Regions from separate parts of the Homo sapiens genome. Here regions 1 and 2 are each linked to region 3. The links are contacts of gene promoters, found by promoter capture Hi-C in blood cells and fetal thymus (Javierre and others, 2016). All regions are on one chromosome and are shown on one strand. Each heading gives the region's core, a stretch centred on a gene start or on the middle of the fragment in contact. The rest is flanking DNA. Distances are from core to core; before and after follow the strand shown. Region 1 overlaps PLEKHG7 (pleckstrin homology and RhoGEF domain containing G7). Region 2 overlaps LOC124902983 (a long non-coding RNA gene). Region 3 holds the start of DCN (decorin).

Evidence for each region. The method cuts DNA at HindIII sites, captures the fragments that hold promoters and counts their contacts. A CHiCAGO score of 5 or more calls a contact.
Region 1: a contact is called between a fragment that was not itself captured here and the fragment with the promoter of DCN in region 3, in 4 of 17 cell types (total CD4 T cells, naive CD4 T cells, naive CD8 T cells and 1 more). The highest score is 8.2, in total CD4 T cells.
Region 2: a fragment that was not itself captured here is called in contact with the fragment with the promoter of DCN in region 3 in 2 of 17 cell types (total B cells and naive CD4 T cells); the score reaches 7.0 in total B cells.

Annotation. Positions count from the first base shown.
Region 1 is chr12:92,729,357-92,733,580 of GRCh38, forward strand. PLEKHG7 (pleckstrin homology and RhoGEF domain containing G7) reads left to right here. Exons shown (of 17, transcript NM_001377329.1): 5 at 2,877-2,917. Among named protein-coding and RNA genes, the nearest start is that of PLEKHG7, 28 kb to the left of the region's middle. The HindIII fragment of the contact is 1,202 bases long and covers 1,751-2,952 here.
Region 2 is chr12:92,641,994-92,646,553 of GRCh38, forward strand. All of the region lies in intron 1 of LOC124902983 (a long non-coding RNA gene), which reads right to left. Among named protein-coding and RNA genes, the nearest start is that of PLEKHG7, 59 kb to the right of the region's middle. The HindIII fragment of the contact is 1,688 bases long and covers 1,686-3,373 here.
Region 3 is chr12:91,180,596-91,185,281 of GRCh38, forward strand. DCN (decorin) reads right to left here and starts at 2,222. Exons shown (of 8, transcript NM_001920.5): 1 at 2,060-2,222. The HindIII fragment of the contact is 3,983 bases long and covers 208-4,190 here.

The DNA.
Region 1 (4,224 bases), core at 1,102-3,601, 1.5 Mb after region 3:
TTAAAATGTCTTCTGGCCAAATGTCTTATCCCAGGCCCAAGACCTGAGACAGGTGCAGCATCCTAGATCAGAGTGCCCTCTCTAGGCTGGTGAGTAGCTTCCCCATTATTGCTGTCATGTTCATCTCCCACCCCACTCCTGGGCTTCAGCCTCACACTGATATCTTCCAACCAGGGTGGTACCATGGGGAGGCAGAGGTGCCGGTGGCAGATGAGTGTCTGATAGACAGGCAGCTTTAGGGATAAAGCGTCTGCATCTTCATCTCATTTGTGAAATAAAAGAACAATTAGGGTCTTCAGAGTGTTTTCTTCAAGATTCTGGGGATAGGTAAATCAAAGCCTTTGAGAGCTAAGAGGAGACTTAAGGATTATCCATGCTGGTGGTTTTTAAACTGGTTTAGTTCTTAGCAGAGTCCTTTTTACAAAAGAATCCTTGCTTGGAAATCCAATGTATAAAACAAATCCAGGTGAAGTTGCAATGCTTGCAGCTGAGATGAGCCCCAAAGACTCACCTCCAAGGCATCCCCAGGAGTCTCAGACACCCAACAAAACAGTTTAAAAACCACCAGGGTCATCCCTCATTCACATATGTGTGAGTGAGACCCAGAAAGGAGAAGTGGCCTAGTCATGGGGTCAGCTGGTTTGTGCAGAGAAATGGAATCAAGGCTCCTGACTGTGAGTCCAGTGCCCTCTCTACCAGTCTGCATCTGTTATCATCTGTCATCTATTGTATGGGCAGCTGCAGTCTCCTGTACGTGGAGCCCAGGACCACCAGTGAATACATCATAACTAACATGTTTATAGCTCTTTATTTTTACAGAGCCTTTCACATCTACTTACTGTCTTATATGATACAGTAATCCAAGTGAACAAACCAAGAGGGATTAAGTGATCTGCTTGAGGACATGCCCCTAGAAATCTGAGCTAGTTCTAAACACAATGTGGCCTTAACAGAGGTTACTACATTTTAAGAGGCTTTAGAATGCTGTCAATTAGTTAACAACTACAACAGTGGTTCTCAAAGGCTGTCCCGAACTAGCAGCTTTGCCATCACCTGAGAAGTTGTTAGAAATGCAGATTCCAGGCTGCCCACCCCCAAGACCTTCTGAATCAGAAACTCTGGGGGTGGTGTCCAGCAGTCTGTTAGTCCATTTTGTTTGTTGTGGTGGTGGTGGTGGTTGTTGTTTGAGACAGAGTCTCACTCTGTGGCCACCACCACGCCTGGCTAATTTTTTTGTACTTTTAGTAGAGACGAAGTTTCAACATATTGGTCAGGGTGGTGTCGAACTCCTGACCTTAGGTAATCCACCTGCCTTGGCTTCCCAAGGTGCTGGGATTACAGGCGCAAGCCGCTGTGCCCAGCCAGCAGTCTTTTTTAACAAGTTCTGCAGGTGATTTTGATGCCGGCTACAGTTTGAGAACCACATGCTAAGGAACAAGTTCATCGCTGCTTCTACATCTCACTAGCTGTTATTTTTGTGTGTGCCTAGCATCGTGGTAGATACCACACAGCAAAAGATAAGCAGCCTCCTCCCTATACCCCTCTGCCCTCTTCTCAGGAGTTTAGAATAGAGGCCTCATGTTCCCAAGTCACGGTCTAAAGCAGTGCTGCTCACGCTTTGCTGTGCATATGAGTCACCTGCAGATATAGTTGAAATAAAGATTCTGGCTTAGCAAAATTGTATATTTAAGGCAGATAATGAAAGATTGTGGATTCAATAAGGACTCATGAATCTTCTGAATATTTACAAAGCTTTCCCAAGGCTCCAAAGCTAGAAAAGCACAGGAGAGAAATTGGCCAAGGATCAGGGACCCCAATTATTGCAGTTCAAATTGGATGTAATAATTTACTGCCAGGCATGTGAAATCTAAGTGTGGTGAAGCTGATTTGTGCCTAAGGGAGAGTCCACCTAATCTCTCTTTAATAAAGATCAATAAGCTGGTCAAAATGAATGAGAGGATAATCTGTTGGGCAGGTGCCTCCCAAGGTTACAGTGGGAAGGTGCCTTAAGCACATCCTTTGCAGTAAATGCTGCTCAGTTCATTGCTTCCCTTTGATTGAATTATTATGCACACTCTCCTGGGGGATCTGATAGAGAGAGAGATGGACGTATAAGACATCCATTTTGTATGCTGAATGGTCAGAACATGCCACCCACACCTAAGAGACAATTTTCAGCTTTGGCTAGGTAGCATTACAACTTTATGCAAACAGCATAAAATTCAAAAGGCTAGAATCCAATCGAATCTCTTTCCTTCCTGGTCTTCCAAATAATGAGGGATTGAATAACGGCTTCCTTCTCAAGTCAAAGCAACTCCTAGAAGATGGCCAGTAGCAAGAAGCCCCGACATGGGTGATGTTTTAATGTTCCCTATTTTGGGAGTCTTCATTTAACCACATCTGGGGATTATGAGTGAATGCAGTTTCCAAGTCTCCCATTTGCTCAAGCTATTGAAGTTTGCATGTGATGGGGGCGTTCTGGAAAGATGGTGTGAAAATGAAGGGCCTGTCCTTTTAGCCCCAGAGTGCTTTGGCTCCCTGTCTTAAATAAATTACTCAACATCTTCAGTACAGTTTATAGATTTCCTTTCAAGCAATGAGGAAAAAGAGTTTAAATAATACACCAGTAAAGAAACAGGACAGTACCACCTTAAGGCAGCAACAGAACACCAACTTTTAGGTTGCAACATTGTTTCATTCACTTGTCTGCAAAAATATAAATATTCATTTTGTGCATTCTCAAGAGAAAGAGAATTAAAGCAGGATGAATTCTGTTTGGCTAATTTTCAAAAAGCAGGTTTTGTAAAGCACTACGATGATCTGTCGCTAGTTACTCTAAGTACTCGTAATAATATATTGTCTTTAATTTCACCCAGAATCCAAAAAGCCAAGATGGCCTTTCTCCAAAAGAGGAGTGGTAAGTGTTGCAAATTGCCATTTTTGTTTTAATTAAGCTTCCTGTAGCTAAGAAAGTAAGAAATGGCTGAAGAGTCTCTTCATTCTGCTTTATCTTTGTATAAAGGCAGATGGCACGTGAAATATAAATGATATCATCACATCCGTAGTATTGGCTACGGAACATGCCAAGTGGTGCCAATTTGTGCAGCGAAACAGTGCTAATTGCCAGTGGTTAATTAGTTCTGCAAAAAAACACAAAGCAATCCTAATATAGTGATGCTTTACAACACTAAATTTATAACTTGCTGCTTAGAAAGCAGCTCACTCGATGAAGCAAACTTGCACAAATGTATGCCCCAGTTTGCAGTTAGTGTCGTGTATATTGGGAACATTGAAAAATGAATGAGATCTTACAGAAACAGATTCTGCAAATACACTTCTATTTCTGGGAAAGCCAATTGGATTAATCCTAGTGGGTTTAAATTCATTCTTGGCTCCATCAATAATTGACGAGTTATCCATCTCAATCAGCGGTCCCTGAGACTTTACTGCCTAAGACAAGGGTGGCCACAGTCAAGCCGTTCCTTCTGGCATGCTGTGGGAAGAGGGAGGGAATGTTCATGATGACAACCTGACTCCTGTTTTCTAGGGGGAGAAAAGGGACTGATTTGTGTTCTCCCAGCATTACTAGTTGCATTACTTACACACCACGACCAGCAGCAGCAGCGGGGCCTTATGGACTGTTACTATGCCTCATTCTGTTAAAAATCTGCCCACGTGGCCTTGCCAATCAGTTTGGCATCAGTTGCTGACATCTGCAGTGGTTCTATGGACACACACACCTTGCTATTTTTTAAGTCCCATCGCTAAATAAAAAGCCCTCTGAAGTTCTAATTCTAGCTGCTTCCCTTACTGCCCTATGACCTTGGCCAAATGGATTACTCTCCCTCAACTCAGATCTTCCCTATAAAAGGCAGAAGACCAGTGCCAGCCTCACAGGGTGATTGTAACGAATGCCGTATAATGCAAGTGGAGCCTACCCCAGAGCTGAGCACACACAGACGCTCAGTCAATCTTGGCCGTATCACTAGTAGTAGTATCTTTAATTAGGGTTTGGAAAACAACTTATTCTCATAGCCAAGTGTATGATTGACTTTCACTTTTTTTCCCAAAAATAAAACGTTTATATGGAACATACTGTAAACATTATGAGCTGCAAATCTTAAATTGTTAGTAAAATGGTAACACCATTGCCACCAGGGCTGTTGCTCATCAGTCATTTAGAGACGTGCTTTGTCTGTTTTTCTGACAGATCTGAGACAAGGC
Region 2 (4,560 bases), core at 1,280-3,779, 1.5 Mb after region 3:
GACAACATTTAATTAGATAATAGTATTACATCAATGTTAATTTCCTAATTTTGATAACTCTTCTGTGGTTATATACCAAAAAAAAGTGTATTTATCAGAAATACACACTAACATACTTAGGGGTAAAGAAAATTCTGTAATTTACTTTCAAATGGTTTGAAAAATATATAAACACAGATACAGAGAGACTGAGAGAATGACAAAGTAAATGTAAGTATTATTAACAACTGGAACATATGGGGTGCAGTACACAAGGATTCTTTGCACCATTCTTGCAACTTTTCTATAAGTTTGAAATGATCGCAAAATTAAAACATTTTTTAAATAAAGGAAAATTATTTAAAAATCTTCATTTGGCAAGAAAGAAAGCTTTAAATTAGGTTGGGTTCTGCACGTGGTTGCACAGGTAGTAGGCCAGAAAGCAAGGAGTTGAAACCAAATCTGCCCCTTGCTCTTAGCCACCACAGCATACTGCCTACTCACAGACAGCCAAGTCCACATATTAGAAAGTTTCATTCATATTAAATGTCCATAATAGGCAAATATATAGAGACAGAAACTAGATTAGTGGTTGCCTAAGGCTGGGAGCAAGAGAGGAAATGGGAAGATGAGAGAGTGATAACTAAAGGATGCAGGATTTCTTTTCAGAGTGATAAAAATATTCTACAATCGATTATGGTGATGGTTGCAAACTCTATGAGTATATTAAAAACCATTGAATTGTACACTTTAGGTAGATGAATTACATGGTATGTAAATTATATGCAATATGAATCACATCTTAATAAAGCTGTTACCAAAAAAAAACCCAAAATTTACAAACGCTGAGAACTTTGTATTTCTGAATAACATTGTGACATTCAACTCTATTTCATACACAAGTAACTTCTTCGGAACAAGAAAGAATCATGCTGATGAAACCAACCCAATAGTCCCATAGGCAGTTTTTTTCTTGGAAAAACATAAAAATTGACCCTTTGGGTCTTCATGTTTGAAATTTCATTTGTTTTATCTGAGTTCCTTCTTCAGGAAAGGACTCCCAGACCTCTCAAAAAGTATCAAAAAATTAAAACTCACCAGATCATCGTATCCAGACAATGAGACACCAGACCCCTCATTCATCATGATTGCTTCCTTGCCCCTCCCTAGTTCCTGTTTTCCCATACATTTCTTCCCTGCTATATAAACCCCTAATTTTAGTCAGTCAGGGAGACGGATTTGAGACTGATCTCCCAACTCCTTGGCTGGAGCACCCAATTAAAGCCTTCTTTCCTGGCTATGTTCATCGTCTCAATTATTGGTTTTCTGTGTGGTGGGCAGCAGGACCTAGGCCAAATCCCTGGTGTTTTGGTAACACTGGCACCAAAAATAACGGTGAACTGCTGCACCATTCATCATTAAAGCACAGAGCAGCCCTTGACTGAAGCTTGAGATCAACAAACCACATATAGAAGGTGACTGACAATATGTCTGCCTAGAAGGTGAGTCCCATGGCACCTGCTCAGCCTTTTGAGGATCATTCTACATAAAGCTAAAGAGGAAAGCAAGTGGACTTTGTTTCCATTACAATAAAATCCAGTAAGTGCTTGGTTGAAGAGGAGAAATTCATATTATATTCTCCTCATCAACCTTGTTCAATGTTTGATCTCCTGAACCACTGAGATGCTAAAATCCAATTGTAGAAAAGCTTTGATTTCATTTTTGCTTTATGTATTTCTATACCATTTGAATGTTGTCAAAACAATTTGTAACATTTTGCTCTTATTCAGAGTAATTTTTTGTGTTGAAGAAGTAGGAAGATGTCTCAAACTGGGACTGCACCAGGGCCTTTTGTATGATAAGAATAACAGAATGCAGAATGTCCCAATTAACTTAAAATTATCTACTTAGAGGCTGGCTTCTTAGGAAAGGCCTGCCTTTCCTATGGATATAAAACTACTTATGGGATTATGTGAGATCTCCTATAGGCCCTTATAGCTTCCTAAAATCCTTTCTGGAAATAATAGGGCATTGCAAAATAAATCTTCAATAGCAATTGATATGACAAATAGGATATAAGTAACTCTTATTCTACAGAAAAAAAATCACAGAGACACTTGGGTTGAAGGATTCAAGCCTTCAGTGGAGTCTTTTTTGCTGTTTCTTTCTGTGTTTTTGCTGAGTACAGAAACTAGGTAGCCAAAGGCAAAAATTCCCTTCTCTGAAGGGTTCAGATACTGCTCAGATGCACCATCTCCAAAGATCATGTCCACACAGACTAAGAACAAGTGCTCTCAGATTGAAACCAATCTGGATCTGAATCCTAGCTCCATTATACCTTAAAATTAAGTGTGACTTAGTCAAGTTATTTACCCTCGGTAAGATTGTCTTTCCATTTGCACAAGGGGAATAGTAATATTTACTACCTCTTCAGGATGTTTTGTAGATCAAGTAAAACATAGAACACACCATTATAAAGCATGGCACATAGAAAGCACCCAATATGCATTAGTTATTGTTAGTCCAAGAGAAAGTTCCATCTAAAATCATATAGTGTCTCCTGTCCCCTAAAAACCTATAAGGTACCTATCACAAAAGTGTAATCTTCTGAACCTCAGTTTTCCTATTTTGCAAATGAGAATAATACCTATAGCAAAGGTAAAAATTAAATAAGAAAATACATGTGACAGTAATTTGTAAATTACATGGCTCTATTTGCCTTGTTTAATATACTAGTTTTGGCAGCAAGAAAAAACTGACAAGTTACATATAAGAAACTCTCCATTAGATTATCAGAGTTCTCAGCAGAAACCTTGCAGGCCAAAAGAGAATGGGATGATGGATTCAAAGTGCTGGAAGGAGAAAAAAAGCTAGTAACCAAAAATACTATACTAATACTTCAGAAATGAAAAAGAAATAAAATATTTTCCATACAAGCAAAAGCTGAGGGAATTCATCACTACTAGACCAGCCTTACAAGAAATTCTTGTGCTACAATTAGAAGGAAAAGGATAATTACTATAATAAAAACATGTGAAGGTATAAAAGTCACTAGTAGAGGTAAATTCATAATCAAACTCAGAACACTCTAGTACTAGAATAGTATTATGGAACTCTTTCAAGCCTCTAGTATGAAGGTTAAAAGTCAAAATGGTCAAAAATAACAATAGCTACAATCAGTCTAAAGTAACACAATAGATAAAGATGTAAATTAAGACAATAAAAATATAAACTGGGTGGGGGGCGGGGGCCTCGAGTATTTTTTGTGACCAAAGCTAAACTGTTATCACCTTAAAATAGTCTATTATAACTACAAGACTTTATGTCAACCCCACAATAATCACAAAGAAAGAAATTCCAAAAGATACACAAATTAGAAAGAGAAAGGAATCAAAGCTTAGCACCACAGAAAAGCATGAAACCAAAATGGTAAAGAGAGGAAGAAAAGGGCAAAGGATCTATGACACAACCAGAAAACAATTAACAAAATAGGAGTAAGTTCTTACCTATCAATAATAACCTTAGTTATTTGTTTAGCTAGAGTTTAAGTCAAGTTATTTATTTAGATAGAGATTAAGTCAAAAACCATACAAAGAAAGAAAAAATTGTAAAAAAGAAACAAAGTAGTAATCTGTCATGGGAGTAGAGAAAAAAATGAAGAGATTAAAACAGTCATTATGTAATGGTAAAGGGATTGATTCAGCAAGAGGATATTACAATCAGAAATGTATATATACCCAACACAAGAGCACCCAAATATATAAAGCAAATACTATTAAATCTACAAAAAGAGACCAGCCACAATGCAATAATATTAAGGGACTTTAACAACCCACTTTCAACAATAGAAAGATCATCTAGACAGAAAAGAACAAAGAAGCATTGGACTTAAAGTGCACCCTAGACACAGACATTTACAAAACATTCTATCCAGCAGCTTCATAATACACAATTCTTCTCAACTGCATGTGGAACATTCTCCAGGATAGATTATATGTCACAAAACAAGTCTTAACAAATTTAAGAAGATAGAGGTCATGTCAAGTATCTTTTCTGACCACAACGATATTAAACTAGAAATCAATAACAGGAGGAACTTCAGAAAATTTACAAATATATGGAAATTAAACAGCATGTTTTTGAATGAACAATAGATCAATGAAGAAATTAAAAGAGAAATTTAAAAAAAAATTAAGACAAACAAGAAAGCAAAGACAACATACTAAAACCTATGGGATACAAAAATAAAAGCAATTCTAAAGGGAGGTTTATAGCAATAAACATCTACATCAAAAAGATAAGAGATTTCTGATAAATAACCTAATGTTGCACCTCGAGGAACTAGAAAACAAGAACAAACTAAATTAAAAATTGGTAGAAGGAAGAGCATAGTGAAGCTCAGAACAGGCAACACAATAAGACCCAGTCTCTACAAAAATAAAGAATTTAGCAAGGCATGGTTCTGTGCACCTGAGATTCTAGCTACTTGGGAAGCTGAGGTGGAGAAAACCCTTGAGTCCAGGAGTTAAAATCTACAGTGAGCTATGATTGCACTGCTACACTCCCGCCTGGGTAACAGAG
Region 3 (4,686 bases), core at 972-3,471:
TTTAACAAAATATCATAAAGATTATTATTCACACTGCCACTTTAAGTTCAACATTAAGCTTCTTCTAGCAGCCCACTCTCATTCAGTTACTGAGTATCCCTTTAAGAGAAGACTTTTGTTTTGGCAGCCTGTTCCTTTGGATTGTATCTGAGGGAGTGGTTTTGTATCTGTTTCCCATTAAAAATGCAATGTTTATGGTTTACCACAAGCTTGCTAGCCTTGCATATTTAATGTCTTACAAGTTTAAAAGAAAAATGAAGCAAAGTCATTGCAGATTTAATAAATAGCAACGACAGTTAATGCAGATGTCACTTTGAAATCTTTTCTCCAGAGCAGAACATGCCTGGTTGTTTCACTAACAACCCACAAAAAGAAAATGTTGAGTATTAGCTGAGAGAAATAGTATTATAATTTATGTTTGTTTACTCCTGTTAAAATGGTACAAATTCTCCAAACAATATTCTTTTTGATTGAAGCTGAATATAGACAGGCAGCTTATAACTTCAATCACCGACCTTTATTTCATTTTCATTTGCTCGTGTGTGTGTGTGTGTGAGAGAGAGAGAATGTATGTGTGTGTGTTCATGTGTGTGTGACAGAGAGAGAGTGTATGTGTGTGTGTGCATTTAACCCTGACTGTACTGTGAAAAAATAATTGCATGTCCAGAAACTTTGTGCAAAATCTTCCATAAAATCATCTGTTTTAAATTAGTGTCATGGTACTTCAAGACCCAGCATCTTAAAACATTTAATGTGGGCTGTCAATACTGATAATTCCTTTCGTCATTTCCTTCTTTCCTTAATTAATCAGAAATATAAAGAGCAAAGAGCAGCTGTCCAAGTAGTAACCAAAGAGATTGTTATTGAGATGATATGCTGTTTAAATTATACTGAAACTGTTTTAAGTAGTCTAAAAATGCATGACAATGTCCAAGATGCTAATTACTAATGTAATATCACTACTCCACTGAAGCTAGTTGCCATAGTTTACAAATGTTTTACCAAAAATAATAATTTCTGGTTCCTAAAACTAGTTAAGCCCATTAAATGAAGTATGTCATCCAGATCAACATTTGCATTATGTTATCTATGCCTCTGGTGTCACTTTCAAAGTCAAAATTTAACCCTCAAGAGATAAGTGAAGCTATAAATGCAAAACAAAATTAAAATCCTACAGCACTAGATGATTAAAAACTTCAATTATAATATATGTAATTTTAAAATAAAGAATAAAGGCGGCATTTATCCACAAACAAGGGTTACTATAGGAGGCATTTGGCTCTTTTCTGGTTAGAAACAGCAACAGGAAAAAAAAAAGCCACAGGTATTTACATCACTGGGAGCCCACTTAATCAGTGGTCACTGTGTTACCCTGTTTTAAAATTAGAAAATTAACCCACATCCTCATTTTATAGTGAATGTATCTTAAAATTTCACTTGCAGTGAAGATACTGACTGGGACACTTTACATTTAAGAAATTATACAGCGTTTTTAGTATCTTAGGCATTTAATAACATAAATATTTTCAATGTTTATTTTCACTTCTCTGGTGATAATTTCTGTTCATTTCTGGGGTTGAAGAAATATACATTAGGTATTTTCAGCTAATCACCAGAGTTCAGTTCTTCTGGGCTTTTAAAAGTCCTTAAAGCAATCAAAAATTCAGGAGAAAAATACATTTTTTAAATATATAGGTCAATTACAGATATGCTACTTCAGAATACTTTTCGGTTACCATCTCTTGAAGAGCTAAACATTCATTAATACAAACACAAAAACATTAATATAGAGAGTCATGGTGTTAGGTTACAGTTTTTTAAGAAGCATCTTTGCAAAAACAGAAGAGAAAGAAATAAAACAATGCATTCAATCATTTTATCAAATATTTAACTTCTGTTTTCAAATAATACTTGTTTAAAATGTTGCATAAAAACTATAAAAGTTTAACAGTTTTTTTTTTCCTTTTCTTTTTCTCACCAAATAATCCCTTTTGCTCGCAACTTGACCGAAGTTTTATTAGTCTGTAGCAGAGTTCAGGACAATTATTGAAAACCATACCTTTTAATCCGGGAATTTGCCACAGGAGCCCTCAAAGCTGAGATGTAATTACACTAAATATTCAGCCCAAGTAAAAGAGTTTGCAGGTGTGGAAAGGAGGAGGGGGTAGGTGCTGCTCTGTGACTAGGTTGAAAACCTCCTGCTTCTACTCCATAGCACAGTTAAAAAATAAGGTTTCCCTCAATGAACACAATCCGGCTGACACCCACATTAGATCATATGGTAATGATATGTCTCTTGTATTGTAGCCAGAAACTTTATCGGCCTTTTTTTTCCTCCCATTTGCTTTATTCTTTTTGCATCTGCTTAAGATTCTAAACTGCTTATGCAGTATAGTGGAGCAACTTGATTTGAAATTTGTCTTATTGTAGATTCATTTCCCTAAGATATTGTAACTAAAGGGTTTGTTTCCCCACCCCCCATCTCATTTCATTCTCCACCCTTTCTAGCCTTGTTTACAAGTAGCATTTATTATACTTCCAAAATGACATTTTTTTCTTGCTTTTGGGATGTGTAAGTCCAGAAAAATGGAATGAAATTAATCTTGTAGTTGTTTTAAATGTGGACTGCAAAAATAAATGAGTAGCCTTATGTGAAACTACTCATTCGGATTCCTACTTGCCTTGGAATGTTTGTGTAAATTCAAGCACTATGCTGTGGAGTTTTTCTGTATATTTTGGACATATTTCTAAAGTGTCCTGAAAGAAAGTCATGGTTTTATATGAAAAGTATGTCATCTATCACTTTCATTAATCATAGTTTAAAATCTTTCTCCCTGTCCACCAGTTTTTAAATAAAATACATAGATAACCTGTAGTTGATCACAACATAGTTTCATCCTCTATATATGAAAAATTTGATTTTCATAGATTATACTTTTATGTAAACTAGAACTTTGAAAAGGCAATAGAGTCTATGTGTCTTTCCAAATTTCAGTAAATGAAAAGAAAAACAAGTGCAACTACAAGGAAAGGTATTTATTTAGCCACTGGAAATCTTTTTTGAGCTTTTATAATTCCCTTGCTGGATGCTGTTAGTTGTCTCTGTGTAGGTCTCTGTGTTTTGACTTGTATCATTATGCTCTGGCCCCTAGGCTGTTACCAGGTGGAAACTGGAAATCAACAGTTTGAAACATGAGATGATCCCCCTCCCATCCTCCAGCCTCCTTCCTTCCCTCCTCCAGCCATCAAAGTATATTCTTCCACAGTAAATATTCTTTTTCCTCAAAAAAACTTAGAGAAATTAAATTCTCAAGTGGTATCTAAGGAGGGGGAGGCGTGTTACCACGTTATAGTTTGCCTTATTTCCTAAGCCCAGCCTCTCAGATAAACAATTTACCCTACTCTGCATCTCCTTAACATTTAATAACCACATATCTAGTTATTCTGATAGTTTAGACAAAGGCAAGCACTATTGTCCCTGGACATTGGTGCAAAAGTCCATGATCCCCTTTACTTGGAATTTATTAATTTCCTTTCTGAACTCTCCTTATATGGCATTTATCTCTTTTTGATGACATATAATCACTCCTGCCTCATATTATAATTATTTATGTACGTGTCTTACTCCAAGGGAGGAATGACATTGTGTTCATGTTTGTAGAATCCCTGCACCCAGAATAGCCATGGTATATACTAAGTTACCAAGATACATTTGCTAAATTAGTAAAGACAATCAAATGATTGGCTATGGACCGTACCCGGACTGGTGTTTTGCCCCAATCCTGGCTTACTGTTTATCAAAACTTAACCCTACTAAAGTGTATATGACAAATTATGGCCATCATTACAAGACAGAGAGAGAGAAAAGGAAGTATTAAAGAAAAAGTAGAAGAAGAAAAATGAGGAGGAGGAGAAAAAAAGACATAATGCCTTTTTATGTAGATAATTTTACTTTTATAAAAGCAGAACCATTATGGTTAAGATTTAGATCTTGTTCCTTCCCCCCGATAGTAAGCTATATGAACTCAGGCAACTTGCTTAACCTCTCTGAATTTCAGTTTCCATATCTGAAAAATGGATACAAATTCTTACCTAACTCATAGTGTTGGAGTGGAGATTAAATAAGGCAATATATATAAAACACTTAACTCAGAACTTAATCCTTATAAGTGAAAATCTCTGTAAATGCAAGCTTTTATTATGTCTTGACATATTTCAAAACAATCCTTTGAGTTAGACAAGATAAGTCATATTTACTATTTCTGTTTTACAAATGAGAAAATTGAAGCCCAGTGACTTGCCCAAGTTCACAGAGCTGGCAAGAAACAAAGCAGAAACTAATATCCAGGTCTTCTCATGCCTAATCCACTTTTCATTACTAAACTATACTAAACTATAATGTATCTTAAGAAAGAGGAAGCAAATTCTTACATATAGAAAAGTAATTATCAAAGTTTTGAGATAACATCTTTTCAGACTATTTTACAAACCATGACCAAGTTGCAATGCTTTTAAAACTTTATTTAATTTGTTCAGGAACAAATAAAAATTTTCTTTTTGTTGTTGTTGTTTGGAAAGAAACTCACCTCCAAAATCTCAAGCATTTTACCAAACATCATCATATTTAAAAGCTGCATCTTTAATCACAAGTTACATCTATCGTCATACTCATTTTTCAGTAGAAGA